Linked DNA regions of Homo sapiens: region 2 is linked to region 1. The links are contacts of gene promoters, found by promoter capture Hi-C in human tissues and cell types (Jung and others, 2019). All regions are on one chromosome and are shown on one strand. The core of a region is centred on a gene start or on the middle of the fragment in contact, and the rest is flanking DNA. Distances in the headings are between cores, read along the strand shown. Region 1 holds the start of FANCL (FA complementation group L). Region 2 has its middle 41 kb from the start of LINC01795.

What was found. Contacts are between HindIII fragments. The study calls those that stand out against the background at their distance.
Region 2: a fragment that was not itself captured here is called in contact with the fragment with the promoter of FANCL in region 1 in 2 of the 25 tissues and cell types used here (H1 embryonic stem cells and neural progenitor cells).

What each region holds. Positions count from the first base shown.
Region 1 is chr2:58,237,896-58,245,502 of GRCh38, forward strand. It overlaps FANCL (FA complementation group L), which reads right to left and starts at 3,430. Exons shown (of 14, transcript NM_018062.4): 1 at 3,323-3,430. The coding sequence starts at 3,418. RefSeq lists a silencer at 3,028-3,077 and an enhancer at 3,618-3,777. The HindIII fragment of the contact is 14,155 bases long and covers 1-6,542 here.
Region 2 is chr2:58,313,607-58,320,869 of GRCh38, forward strand. No RefSeq gene overlaps it. Among named protein-coding and RNA genes, the nearest start is that of LINC01795, 41 kb to the left of the region's middle. The HindIII fragment of the contact is 6,088 bases long and covers 1-5,172 here.

The sequences.
Region 1 (7,607 bases), core at 2,180-4,679:
TCTCTCTGTTGTATCATACACTCAGGAGAAGCTAGCTGCCATGTGTGATAACAGTCAAGCAACACTATAAAGATCCATGTGGTGAGGAACTAAGGCCTCCTGTTAAGAGCAGTAACAAACTGAGGCCTCATGGCCAATAGCTATGTGAATGAGCAATCTTGGAAGCAAATCCTCCACCTCTAGCTTGACCAACTGGCAGCCCAGGACAGCTCTGAATGCAGCCCAACACAAATTAATAAACTTTCTTAAAACATTATGGGATTTTTTGTGATTTTTTTTTAGCTTATCAGCTATCATTAGTGTATTTTATGTGTGCCCAAGACAATTCTTCTTCTTCCAATGTGACCCAGGGAAGCCAAAAGATTGGACACCCTGTTTTAGACCATCAAAGTCTTGGCAAATATCTTGATTGCAAGATCATGAGAGATTTTGATCAAGAACTACCATCCAAGTTGTTCGCAAATTTCAAATCCACAGAAACAGTGAGACAATAATTGTTTTTGTTTTAAGCCACTAAGGTTTGAAGTAAATAGCAGCAAAAGATAACCAACATAGAGAGCATCATTACAGATCCTAAAGACATTAAAAGGATAATAAGGGATTATTGTAAATAACTTTAAGCCAATAAAATCAGAAACCTAGATGAAACTAACAAATTCCTTGAAAGACACAAACTACCAAAGCTCACTCAAAAGGAAAGAGAAAATCTGATAATAGAGACAACACCTAAAACTGATTACATATTAGGTCACAGGAAAAAGTACCAGTAAGTTCCATGGAGACTTTTTTATAAACAATACTGTCTAATTACAATACAAGAAAAATTAGAAATCAGCAACAAAATTAAAAACCAAAAAGGACCTTCCACGAGAAAATTTTTACAACCTATTAAGGTGCATAGTAAATTGACATCATATAGCTTCTAAAAATGGTGGTTATAAGGCTACATGTCAGCATCTATAGGATACTTTTAAAACACTGATGAGAGGAAATGCAAAGCCTTAAAAACTTACATACATAAAACCTGCTCACTGGCCAAATCTGGGACAATTCGAGGATCAAAATAAATAATGATTATAATCAAGTAATTTTTTTAAAAGTCCATGCATCCATTCTAATATAATTAAATAAATGAGAAAGCAGGCAATGCTACTCCTTATAATGAATTGCCACTTCATAAATATAGAAATGACAAGAGTTAGAAAATCATCATTTGGCAACCGTGATAGTAATAGTCGACTCAAGCAAAAGTCAATGGACGCTAAAACCAGAGAATGTGTGTGAAAGTTTGATGCCTCAGAGTACCTCCCCAAAAGTACTTATTAATTACAAAAGGAGACTCTGACAGATGATACCTTAACCAGGTGATCAAAGTTAACATCATTAATAATGGAACCAACCAGGTAACCTCACAAGCCTTGAGAAGGACAAAACAATCTTTCTGTAGTATCCCTGCCAAAAATGCATTAGCTGAATTTAATAGTGAGGAAATATCATCCAAACCCAAATTGAGATACATTCTACCTAACAGCCAATCTGTACTCTTTAAAAATGTCTAGCTTATAAAAAACACAAACAGACTGAGAATTGTTCCAGGTTAGACATGACAACTAAATGTAATGTGGGATCTTAACAACAGATGGTAGGGGATGGGGGTATAAAACATACAACTGTATCATAAACAAAATTTGAAATATGGACTCTATCTTAGATAATAGTATATCATTAAATATCCTGATTTTAATCACTGTACTGTGGTTATGTATGAGTGTGTCCTCGTTCTTATGAAATGTATGCTCAAGTATTTAGGGATAAAGGGGAACTACGCCTGATTTGACCTCAAATGGTTCAGGAAAATAATGTGTATACACACCCACCCACATACATATACTTAACAATGATCAGTAAAATGGAGAAAATGTAAACTGGTGAATCTAGGTAAAGGGTATACTGGAATTACTTGTACTGTATATCCTTGCTACTTTTCTGTAAATTTAAAATATATACAAAATATTTTTAGACACGTAAAATGTTTAAGATTTAAATAAACTGCTAAGGCAGGTACAAATTGGAATTCTAGCTATAGCAATGGTCATAAAAGAAACTTTCATCTAATCTCAATTCTAATGGGTGTACTTGTTTCCTAAAAGGCCTTAGCAGATATAGACATACATAACAGTATTTTGCCTAAAATTAGGTATAACATGCTTCCTGTAAAAAAAAAAAAAAAAAAGTAACTTAAAATTTTTCAACTTTTCTAAATGTTGTCTACAAGAGAATCATATTTTCAGCTAGGTAATTCAAGAAGAATACTTCTAATTGGAGAGGGAAAGGTGGATTAACTTTTTTCCATATGGAATAATGAATTTTTAACCTCTACTTTCTGTGATGGTCATATGGTAATTCCACATATACTCAAAGACTATGCGTGATGGTGGGGAAGTGGGCACAAGGTTGAGTGTAATGGTCAGAAAGGAAAAGTCTACACTCCTAACCTAAGGTATCCTGGTGCAATGTAAAGAGAAAAAAATCCAGGACTGAAATCACACAGCCTGCGTTTAAGGGATTCTGATGTGATCATCAGCAAATAACGTCTCCGGTTTCCCATACCTTGATTTCTTCAACTAGAAAATGGGAATGATGATTCTTTTAAAAATTTCTGCCTCAAAGGGCTGAGGATTAAGTGAACTATTTACCTGGAAAGCGCTTTGTAAACTTCAAAACCCTACACATGTGTTAGTATGTGTAATAAACTCCATATGAGAGGCCACTGGAATCAGCAAAGTTAATTAATTCCATTGCTGTCATGCTTCTCCTAGAAGATATTGTAACTGTGGGTGTACAGGTACATACGACTTGGCAAAGGGCCAAAATAAGGTTTTCTTCCCAAATGTTCTTTCTACAGGAAACACGAAAATAATTAGCCCAGATTCCCGAGTGAACTCATCAACATCCGTGGAGGTGGAGGGTGTTAAAATCGAGTTAAGGCAAAATTTACAAAAAAAAAATTAAAAAACAGTCAATTGCGGGACACTGAACGAAGAAGGAAGCCAAACTCGGGGAAGGGCTAGGGAGAGAGGAGGCGTGGCCCCAGCCCCGCTCCACGCCGCGCGCCTCCTCGCTCCCCATCCAGCGCGGCGACCACCGGGGTGGCGGCGACAGCGGCGCTTCTCAAACCTTTAGTCTCCCAAGAGCCGTTACGCGCCGCCCCTCTCAATCCCCACAAGTCTGGGCCCCTAACCTCCTAGCCCGTCACAGACTTCTCCGCGCAGCTACGCTGCAAGAGGCTCTCTTAGCTAGAAAGCAACCACTGGGCGGGTACCTGAGCCGAGATGAATCCCTCATACACGGTTTTCGACCGGTTCTGGGGCAGAAGCAGGGGGCACTGGCGCAACAGGCTCGCTTCCGTCACCGCCATGGCTCGAAGTCCGGAGAAACACAGAAAAGCTCTAGACCTGCTGGGTCCTGCACATGCGCAGTCCGCTGGCGCTCGGACGCCGCGGAGCGGAAACCCCAGCCTTGGCGGGAAGATCCTGGAGGATTCCGCGGGCGGAAATGAAGGTGAAGCGCAGGCCAGGCCAAGTGGCGCTCTGCGGGAGGCGACATCAGGGCTCCCCAACCGGTAGTGGGAGGGAAGATTGCCCTCAAGTCCACAGGACTGACTGACCAAGATCATTCTAGCCTCAATTGTCCCAGGAGCCCTTTCGATGATTCTGTTTTACTTTATTGAAAGACTGTTACAACTTTGGTGTTGCATTTCCTCCAGAATAAAATGACTTTTACAGCCTGGACGTTGTAGCACTCTGTCTTCTTTGCTGTTGTCCTCTCTCCCTTAACATACAGAATAATGTATTATTTTGTGTATAATTATTGTAATATAATGTATAACACATTGATTATATCATATATATTACAGTTCTGTGGCTTACTAAGTTCAATCAGATATATTTGAGGCACACACATGTATACGTATATGTGTATTGATTAGACTCAAGTCAACACTGGACTCAGTTCTGTGTACGGCACTCACAAATATATAAAGCAAAACATGAGTAAAGATTGCTGATGGACTTGAACTTAATTTTCCTCTGACAGCGCTTGCAATATGTTTTTCTAACTCAGGAATGTTATCCATCCCATCTTATTAAGAGTTGATTAAATAAGAAACCTACTAAAATATTTACCATATGATTATTTGATTTTCCAATTTTCCAATTTTCCAATGCATCACGTTTGAGCCCTACTATTTGAAAAACATCATTGTAATGTGCCAAAGGTTGAGCAAAGATTATTTCGTCCCCTACCCATCTTTATTGACCTCAAGACAGAATTTGACATCCTGAAGATTCTTAAAGTTTGACAAGAATTTGTCACAGCATTCTGGATGCTTACAGAAAAGAATGCTGGAGCAGTGGTTAGATATAAATTACATTAAAGCAGTGGTTCTCAAAACGTGATCCTAGAACCTAGCAACAGCATCACCTGGGAACTATGTAGAAATACAAGTTTTCACCGCTGATGGGGTTCAGGATATGCTACCCCAAAATATGGCCCCTTGACATTTGAGAAAACAACAAAACCTAAGATCACTCTCTGACCTTCTCCCATCCTTCTTCCCTGAGGCGGGTCATTGGATCCTCAATCCAGAGGTGCTCTTCCTATACCCACAGGAAAGAAATATCCTTATCTCTAAAGAAACGGAGACATAGAAAAGAATCTGAACAAAAAGACCTTTGACAACTTACCCCAGTTTATTACCATTAGACCATGCTTTGTCCAACCGTACTTCCCCACAACTGTCCACTGTTCCTTCTAAAAATGCACAGGTTTTCCTGTTTCTTTGGGCTTCATCTCTGAAGGCTCCCATGCCACATAAAACTTAAATAAATTTGCACGCTTTTCTCTTATTAATCTGTCTTTTCTTATAAGGGACTCAAACAGGAATCTAGCAACAGGAAAGAAAGATGTTTCTCATTCCCTACAGGCCCCTATTTCAAACCTCGGGAATCCCAAACACTGGCAATAGGGCTCAGCAGTCTGCGTTTTAACAAGCTCTCCAGGTGATTCTGATGCATGCTAAGGTTTGAGGATCTCTGCAGGGGCAGGACATAACACCTGCTTTATTTTGCAACTCGGTAATTAAGGACGGCCATGCTACATGTTTTCCTATAAGAATAAAGTAGAGGCTGTGCAAAAGTGGGATCAACACAAAGATTAAGAGAACATATAGTCCCTTACTTCAAGCACTTTATAATTTATCTGTGAATTAAGATCTTTATTGTATCCAGTATGTTAAACTTCCCCACCACCACACTTTCCCCCATGGAACTTCTACCCTTTCTTTAAAGTTCTTCTCAAGTGCTATGTCTTTTTGGAAAGCTTTTTTAATCTTCTGAAAATTATTGCTCTCCCTAATCATTTAGCATATTTCCTGCTGCATCGTAGGTGCTAATAAATTATTTACTAAATATCTTAATTTGGGTTGTTATAGCAGAATACCATAAACTGGATAGGTAATCCGCAGAAATTAATTATTTCTTAGTTATGGAGGCTGAGAAGTCCAAAATCAAGACGCAAGGACAAGATTTGGTGTCTGGTGAGGAGTCACTTCCTGGAACACAGTCTTTTGGCTGTGACCTTACATCACATTCACCTTTACTATTGATACACTGGACAGTGTGACCACTTGCCAAAAGCAGTTGGCTCCTTGATTCGGAATCCCCATAATTAGGTAACTAGACTTAAAGATTTCCAGCACGTTTATTGCTAATTTATCATCTTAGATTTTAAAGAAAAGACATCCAAGTCACTGTTATGATAGTTGAACTTGTAAATGAGCATTCCTTATCAATAAAATCTATAATTGAAGAAATCCAATGACCAAGGAACAAGGTAAGATACCATATAAAAACTTTTTAATTCAATTACTCGACTATTATCCTTAGGTGTTCAAGACTGAAAGTTGGATACTCACTACCATCATCAATTCATACGTGGTTGTGCTGGAACCATTTATATATAGCCCAGTTGAAGTCAGCCACCCCAAAATCCAAAAAAAAAAAAAACAAAAATGCTCAATATGTTTAAAGATCAGAAAGCCAAGGAACTACTTCTACCACCATCAGCATGATTTCAATTTTGGAATCACTCTGACAAACTGCACAAAGATCCTCATTAAAGTTCAAGTTCCACCAGGTATCCTAGGCAGGATTTCATTTATATACTTTGCCACAAAAATTACTACTATTTAAATGCTATTGCCTGAGGAAGAACTTTATATTCTAACACAGAAAAATATCCAAACATTTTGACAAATAAAAAGCACAAATTCCAGAATGGTATGCTTACTATTATAACATTTATATTCAAATATATAAGTAAAGTTGCTCTGTATTACTAGCAATGGTTACTTTAGGGGAGGGAGATGGGAACAAAGAATGGAGATAATGGCCCATGGAGACTTTTATCTTTTATATTTTAATTTTTTAAAGGAGAATTATTAGTCTTAAAATTAAAAATTAAAATTTAAAATGCTTATACCATTCCAATTAGCATCTGTTATCCTTATTTTATAGCCCAAATGTTTAGCCATGTCCCAAGAGTTTCTTCTCCCAGTTCCCACCAGTAATGGAAGAAGATAGGATGCCTGCCATTAACATTAATAAGATTAATAAAGGAGAGATTGTTTGAGTCTGCTGAGAAGAAAGATGAAGGAAGAGACTTGCGAAATGTGAAAATAAAGGGAAAATGAAAATTAGGGGAAAGTGAAGGAAGAATAGCCATTTAAAAGAGTTTTCAAAAAAACTGGAAAAGCAAGCCAATAATATCCTATTCTCTGTGGCACTGTGTCATAGAATGGAAAAGACAGCAGATAGTCAAGATTAAGGCATGATCAGGAGTGTAAAATGCTACCTAAAGGTTGAAAAAACTGAGAATTATAGAGAGGCCTTTGGATTTGATCACGCAAAAGCATTTATTAATTTGAAAGATCAGTTTGCTCTTGCCTGTTTTTCTATCCATGCACTAAACAGCAGTTTATAAATTGCGATGTAGTGAATAATTTTTCAGCCTTGAAAAGACCATATCCATAAGAAATAAACTACAAAGACTTAATTATGTGACCAAAGTCTGGTAGGGTGATATATGGAGAAGACAACCTGGCTCCTATAACCCTACCCCAACTCTTTTGGAGCACACTCCCTTGGTAGGTAGGTTTTACCAATAATGAGTCTAGATCCATTGCAGGTACAGAATAACAATTTCTGCTTCACTCTGGGCTGTAGACTTGAGGAGCAATGGTACCCACAACCCAACTACAGGTAAACAAAAGACCATTTAAGGGTTAAGTCTGCTAAAAGAGTTGATGGGTTACAAAGATTGGGCTGGAATCAGAAGAATATTTATGGGGTCATCATCTAAAGAAAGGATAAGAATGTAAACGGGCCGTTTAAAAGTATAGAAGAATCCAGATTATTAAACAACCCTCTTCTTAGCAAAGCACGAAGACCCTCTTCCCAAGAAACACCATCCCCACACCCAGTGAAAGCCACTGATTAGAGAGATTAACAGCTCTTTTGTACTTTTTAATAAGCCACTGGGAGAAATGT
Region 2 (7,263 bases), core at 879-3,378, 74 kb after region 1:
TATTCTAAAAAAAAAAGAGGTTTAATTGGCTCACAGTTCTGCAGGTTGTACAGGAAACATGGCATCATCTGCTCAGCTTCTGGGGAGCTCTCAGGAAACTTACAATCATAGCAAAAGGCAAAGAGGGGGTGAGATGTCTCACATGGCTGGAGCTAGGAGGAAGAGAGAGAGAGGAGAGATGCTACACACTTTTAAACAACCAGATCTCATGAGGTGGTCTTCAGTATGTCGGAAGAACAAAGAGAAGGTTGGAAATTCCAGGAAAAGAAGAAATGTTAGATATTGTTTCTCCAGAAAGTTCAATGGCACTAGTAAAGTTTTCGAGAGCTGGCAAGTGGTGGTGGTGGGTAAAAGGGGGCTTAGAGTTGCAACAGTTTATTTCAGAAACCAGTAAATAAAACTGGTTTCAAGTTACAGCAAGCAGTTTCAGCAGCCAGTCTTGCAGAGAATTAAATTCTTGGAGCAGCATCATGTGCCCTGAGGGCTTTTGCCACCTGGATTCTCCACTCTGTTTTAGTTGAGTATGACAAGAATGGCCCAATTATTATCCCTTTTCACAGAGTGTCAGGCCTCTGAGCCCAAGGTAAGCCATCATATCCCCTGTGACCTAGACATACACATCCAGATCGATGACATTCCACTGATGACATTCCACCACAAAAGAAGTGAAAATGGCCTGTTCCTGCCTTAACTGATGACACTGTCTTGTGAAATTCCTTTTCCTGGCTCATCCTGGCTCAAAAGCTCCCCCACTGAGTACCTTGTGACCCCCACTCCTGCCCACCAGAGAACAACACCCCTTTTTCCTTTACCTACCCAAATCCTATAAAATGGCCCCACCCCTATCTCCCTTCGCTGATTCTCTTTTCGGACTCAGTCTGCCTGCACCCAGGTGAAATAAACAGCCATGTTGCTCACACAAAGCCTGTTCGGTGGTCTCTTCACACAGACGCGCATGAAATTTGGTGCCGTGACTCAGATCGGCGGACCTCCCTTGGGAGATCAATCCCCTGTCCTCCTGTTCTTTGCTCCATGAGAAAGATCCACCTACAAGCTCAGGTCCTCAGACCGACCAGCCCAAGGAACATCTCACCAATTTTAAATCGGGTAAGCGGCCTCTTCTTACTCTCTTCTCCAACCTCTCTCACTGTCCCTCAACCACTTTCTCCTTTCCACTCTTCAATCTCTCCCTTCTCTTAATTTCAATTCCTTTCATTTTTCGGGTAGAGAAAAAGGAGACACGTTTTATCCGTGGACCCAAAACTCCGGCACCGGTCATGGACTAGGGAAGGCAGCCTTCCCTTGGTGTTTAACCTTTGCAGGGATGCCTCTCTGATTATTCACCCAGGTTTCAGAGGTGTCAGACCACGCAGGGACACCTGCCTTGGTCCTTCACCCTTAGCAGCAAGTCCCACTTTTCTGGGGGAAGGGGCAAGTACCCCAATCCCTTCTCTCCATGTCTCTACCCCTTCTCTGCCTTTCTGGGGGGCAAGAAACCCCCAACCCCTTCTCCTTCACCCTGAGTGGCAACTCCCGCTTTTCTAGAGGAGGGGCAAGTACCCCAACCTCGTATCTCTGTGCCCCGATCCCTTATTTCCACGCCCCGACCTCTTATATCTCTGCACCCTGATCCCTTATTTCCATGCCCTGACCTTGTATCTCTGTGCCCCGACCCCTTCTCTGCTTTTCTGGAGGGCAAGAACCCCCCACCCCTTCTCCGTGTCTCTACTCTTTTCTCTGGTCTTGCCTCCTTCACTATAGGCAAGCTTCCACCTTACATTCCTCCTTCTTCTCCCTTAGCCTGTGTTCTTAAGAACTTAAAACCTCTTCAACTCTCACCTGACCTAAAATCTAAGCGTCTTACTTTCTTCTGCAATTCCGCTTGACCCCAATACAAACTCAAAAGTAGTTCCAAATAGCCGGAAAATGGCACTTTCAATTTTTCCATCCTACAAGATCTAAATAATTCTTGTCGTAAAACGGGCAAATGGTCTGAGGTGCCTGACGTCCAGGCATTCTTTTACACATCTGTCACTCTCTAGTCTCTGTTCCCAATGCAACTCATCCCAAATCTTGCTTCTTTCCCTCCCACCTGTCCCCTCAGTCCCAATTCTTCTGCTAGGTCCCAATTCTTCTGCTCCTGACATTAAATAAAACTCCAAAAATTAAATTCCGGCCCTCAAACCCCACAACAGGATTTAATTAACCTCACCTTCAAGGTGTACAATAATAGAAAAAAGTTGCAATTCCTTGCCTCCACTGTGAGACAAACCCCAGCCACATCTCCAGCACACAAGAACTTCCAAACGCCTGAACTGCAGTGGCCAGGCATTCCTCCAGAACCTCCTCCCCCAGGAGCTTGCTACAAGTGCCAGAAATCTGGCCACCAGGCCAAGGAATGCCTGCAGCCCAGGATTCCTCCTAAGCTGTGTCCCATCTGTGCGGGACCCCGCTGGAAATCGGACTGTCCAACTCACCTGGCAGCCACTCCCAAAGCCCCTGGAACTCTGGCCCAAGGTTCTCTGACTCCTTCCCAGATCTTCTTGGCTTAGCGGCTGAAGACTGACGCTGCCCGATCACCTCGGAAGCCCCCTAGGCCATCACGGACGCCGAGCTTCGGGTAACTCGCAGTGGAGGGTAAGTCTGTCCCCTTCTTAATCAATACCGAGGCTACTCACTCCACATTACCTTCTTTTCAAGGGCCTGTTTCCCTTACCTCCATAACTGTTGTGCGTATTGACAGCCAGGCTTCTAAACCTCTTAAAACTCCCCAACTCTGGTGTCAACTTAGACAATACTCTTTTAAGCACTCCTTTTAGTTATCCCCACCTGCCCAGTTTCCTTATTAGGCCGAGACACTTTAACTAAATTATCAGCTTCCCTGACTATTCCTGGATTACAGCTACATCTCATTGCCGCCCTTCTTCCCAATCCAAAGCCTCCTTTGCGTCCTCCTCTTGTATTCCCCTACCTCAACCCACAAGTGTAAGATACCTCTACTCCCTCTTTGGCGACCGATCAAGCACCCCTTACCATCTCATTAAAACCTAATCACCCTTACCCTGATCAATGCCAATATCCCATCCCACAACATGCTTTGAAAGGCTTTAATCCTTTCAAAGCATGTTATCACTCGCCTGCTACAGCATGACCTTTTAAGGCCTATAAACTCTCCTTACAATTCCCCCGTTTTACCTGTCCTAAAACCAGACAAGCCTTACAAGTTAGTTCAGGATCTATGCCTTATCAACCAAATTGTTTTGCCTATCCACCGCATGGTGGCAAACCCATATACTCTCCTATCCTCAATACCTCCCTCCAAATCCATTATTCTGTTCTGGATCTCAAACATGCTTTCCTTACTATTCCTTTGCACCCGTCATCCCAGCCTCTCTTCGCTTTCACTTGGACTGACCCTGACACCCATTAGGCTCAGCAAATTACCTGGGCTGTACTGCCGCAAGGCTTCACAGACAGCCCCCATTACTTCAGTCAAGCCCAAATTTCATCCTCATCTGTTACCTATCTTGGCATAATTCTCATAAAAACACACGTGCTCTCCCTGCTGATCATGTCCGATTAATCTCCAAAACCTCAATCCCTTACAAAACAACTCCTTTCCTTCCTAGGCATGGTTAGTGCAGTCAGAATTCTTACACAAGAGCCAGGACCGCACCCTGTAGCCTTTCTGTCCAAACAACTTGACCTTACTGTTTTAGCCTAGCCATCATGTCTCTGTGCAGCGGCTGCTGCCGCCCTAATACTTTTAGAGGCCCTCAAAATCAAAAACTATGCTCAACTTACTCTCTACATTTCTCACAACTTCCAAAATCTATTTTCTTCCTCATACCTGACGCATATACTTTCTGCTCCCCAGCTCCTTCAGCTGAACTCACTCTTTAAGTCCCACAACTACCATTGTTTCTGGCCCGGACTTCAATCTGGCCTCCCACATTATTCCTGATACCACACCTGACCCCCATGACTGTATCTCTCTGATCCACCTGATATTCACCCCATTTCCCCATATTTCCTTCTTTCCTGTCCCTCACCCTGATCACGCTTGATTTATTGATGGCAGTTCCACCAGGCCTAATCGCCACACACCAGAAAAGGCAGGCTATGCTATAGTACCAGCCACTAGCCCGCCTCTTAGAACCTCTCATTTCCTTTGCATCATGGAAATCTATCCTCAAGGAAATAACTTCTCAGTGTTCCATCTGCTATTCTACTACTCCTCAGGGATTATTCAGGCCCCCTCCCTTCCCTACACATCAAGCTCGAGGATTTGCCCCCACCCAGGACGGGCAAATTAGCTTTACTCAACATGTCCCGAGTCAGGAAACTAAAATACCTCTTAGTCTAGGTAGACACTTTCACTGGATAGGTAGAGTCCTTTCCTACAGGGTCTGAGAAGGCCACCACAGTCATTTCTTCCCTTCTGTCAGACATAATTCCTCAGTTTAGCCTTCCCACCTCTATACAGTCTGATAACAGACCAGCCTTTATTAATCAAATCAGCCAAGCAGTTTTTCAGGCTCTCAGTATTCAGTGAAACCTTTATATCCCTTACGGTCCTCTGTCTTCAGAAAAAGTAGAATGGACTAAAGGTCTTTTAAAAACACACCTCACCAAGCTCAGCCACCAACTTAAAAAGGACTGGACAATACTTTTACGACTTTCCCTTCTCAGAAGTCAGACCTGTCTTCAGAATGCTACAAGGTACAGCCCATTTGAGCTCCTGTGTAGACGCTCCTTTTTATTAGGCCCCAGTCTCATTCCAGACACCAGACCAACTTAGACCGTGCCCCAAAAAAAACTTGTCATCCCTACTATCTTCTGTCTAGTCATACTCCTATTCACCGTTCTCAACTACTCATACATGCCCTGCTCTTGTTTACACTGCCGGTTTACACTGTTTCTCCAAGCCATCACAGCTGATATCTCCTCGTGCTATCCCCAAACTGCCACTCTAAACTCTTGAAGTAAATAAATAATCTTTGCTGGCAGGACTATGCTGAATGTCCTTAGGCACTCTCTAATCAGATGTCCTGAGTCGTCCCAGTTGTTAGACCTTTTATACCTGTTTTTCTCCTTCTCTTATTCCATTTAGTTTTTCAATTCATACAAAACTGTATCCAGGCCATCACCAATAATTCTAAATTACAAATGTTCCTTCTAACAACCCCACAATATCACCCCTTACCACAAAATCTTCCTTCAGCTTAATCTCTCCCACTCTAGGTTCCCACGCCGCCCCTAATCCCGCTCGAAGCAGCCCTGAGAAACATCGCCCGTTATCTCTCCATACCATCCCCCAAAATTTTTGCTGTCCCAACACTTTACCACTATTTCATTTTATTTTTCTTATTAATATAAGAAGACAGGAATGTCAGGCCTCTGAGCCCAAACTAAGCCATCATATCCCCTGTGACCTGCACATACACATCCAGATCGCCGGTTCCTGCCTTAACTGATGACATTCCACCACAAAAGAAGCGAAAATGGCCTGTTCTTGCCTTAACTGATGACATTGTCTTGTGAAATTCCTTTTCCTGGCTCAAAAGCTCCCCCACTGAGTACCTAGTGACCCCCACTCCTGCCCGCCAGAGAACAACCCCCCTTTTTCCTTTACCTACCCAAATCCTATAAAACGGCCCCACCCCTCTCTCCCTTCGCTGACTCTCTTTTTGGACTCAGCCCGCCTGCACCCAGGTGAAATAAACAGCCATGTTGCTCACACAAAGCCTGTTTGGTGGTCTCTTCACACGGACACGCATGAAACAGAGTAAATGTGAAAAAGTTAGTAAATAATGCAGGAGAGTGATGTGAACTGAATTCAAAATTTCTGAAAACAAATATGAGGAATTAACAAGAGAAAAAGCAGGCAAATTAGAATAGAAAAACAAGACCACAAAATAAAAAAAGGAAGCACAAACCACGTATCGAAGAAGTAAGGTGGCTAGAGGAATTTGTATATTGTTCATCATCTGGGATGTCGTGGCCCAGGAATGGCCATGACTGGCTCCTGGATGGAGGTATTGAGAAGGCTCAGGCTCGCAAAAAGTAAGTGCTCTGGTGCAGCCACAGCTGACTCAGCCTTATTTAAGGTATAAAATATCATTGCTCAGTTAGAGTCATGGCAGGCTTTGCCTGATTTTGGAGATTTAGGGGTATTTGAATAAACATAATTCACAATCTTATCCAAAACCTAATCAGCACACTCCAAACAATTCATGCCTGAAATGCTCAGTTAGAGATCCCTTGAGATGTTCTCTATTTCTGGTTCCCAATTAAGCTGAAACAGGGACAGCTATTTGCATAGTATTTTGGCATATTCACTCAACCCAGGTAGAGCAGAGATTAGTGAAAATGGAAACTAATAGAAGAATAAAACTGCACTATCCTCTGGAAAATAGTTGGTATTTGTTTTTGCAGTATTGGTAAATGTTTGTGAGGTTCTGACTTTTCTAAATGGGTGGTGTGATTTTTACTTTTTTTTTTTTTTTTTGAGATGGAGTCGTGCTCTGTCACCAGGCTGGAGTGCAGTGGCACGATCTCGACTCACTGCAGCCTCCGCCTCCCAGGTTCAAGAGATTCTCCTGTCTCAGCCTCCCGAGTAGCTGGGACTACAGGTGTACACCACCACGCCTAGCTAATTTTTGTATTTTTAGTAGAGATGGGGTTTCACCTCATTGGCCAGGATGGTCTCGATCTCTTGACCTCATGATCTGCCTGCCTTGGCCTCCCAAATTGCTGGGATTACAGACATGAGCCACCGTGCCCGGCCTTTCTTTCATTTTTATGCTGAAACAGCTCACATCCTAGAAAACCCTTCTACATACAACAGATGAATCCATAGGATTTAATTCTGACATTTCTTGTCATCGCATTCTGAAATCTTAAGTCATTCCTTGTTAAAAAGATGAACTCAACATAACATATCTTTTTAGGTTCCCTGGAAGTTCTCATAAAGAACTATATTATTGCCTACTTCAATTTACAAAATGAATTTCATGTTAGCTAGGTTTTTCCTAATATATTTTCACATCTATAACTAAATATATATTTTCATAGATTCACATATCATGACAGAATTTATGATTTCAGTTATTGTGCCCCTAAAATTTGTGATGCTTGAAAAACATTTCTGATAAGCAAAATTCATACTAGTGTTGACATATATAGAATATATGAATTTCAGCTTGCAAAAACCTAGTGGTTAAAATTTATAATCTATACAGTTCTTAACAGTTTTTATAC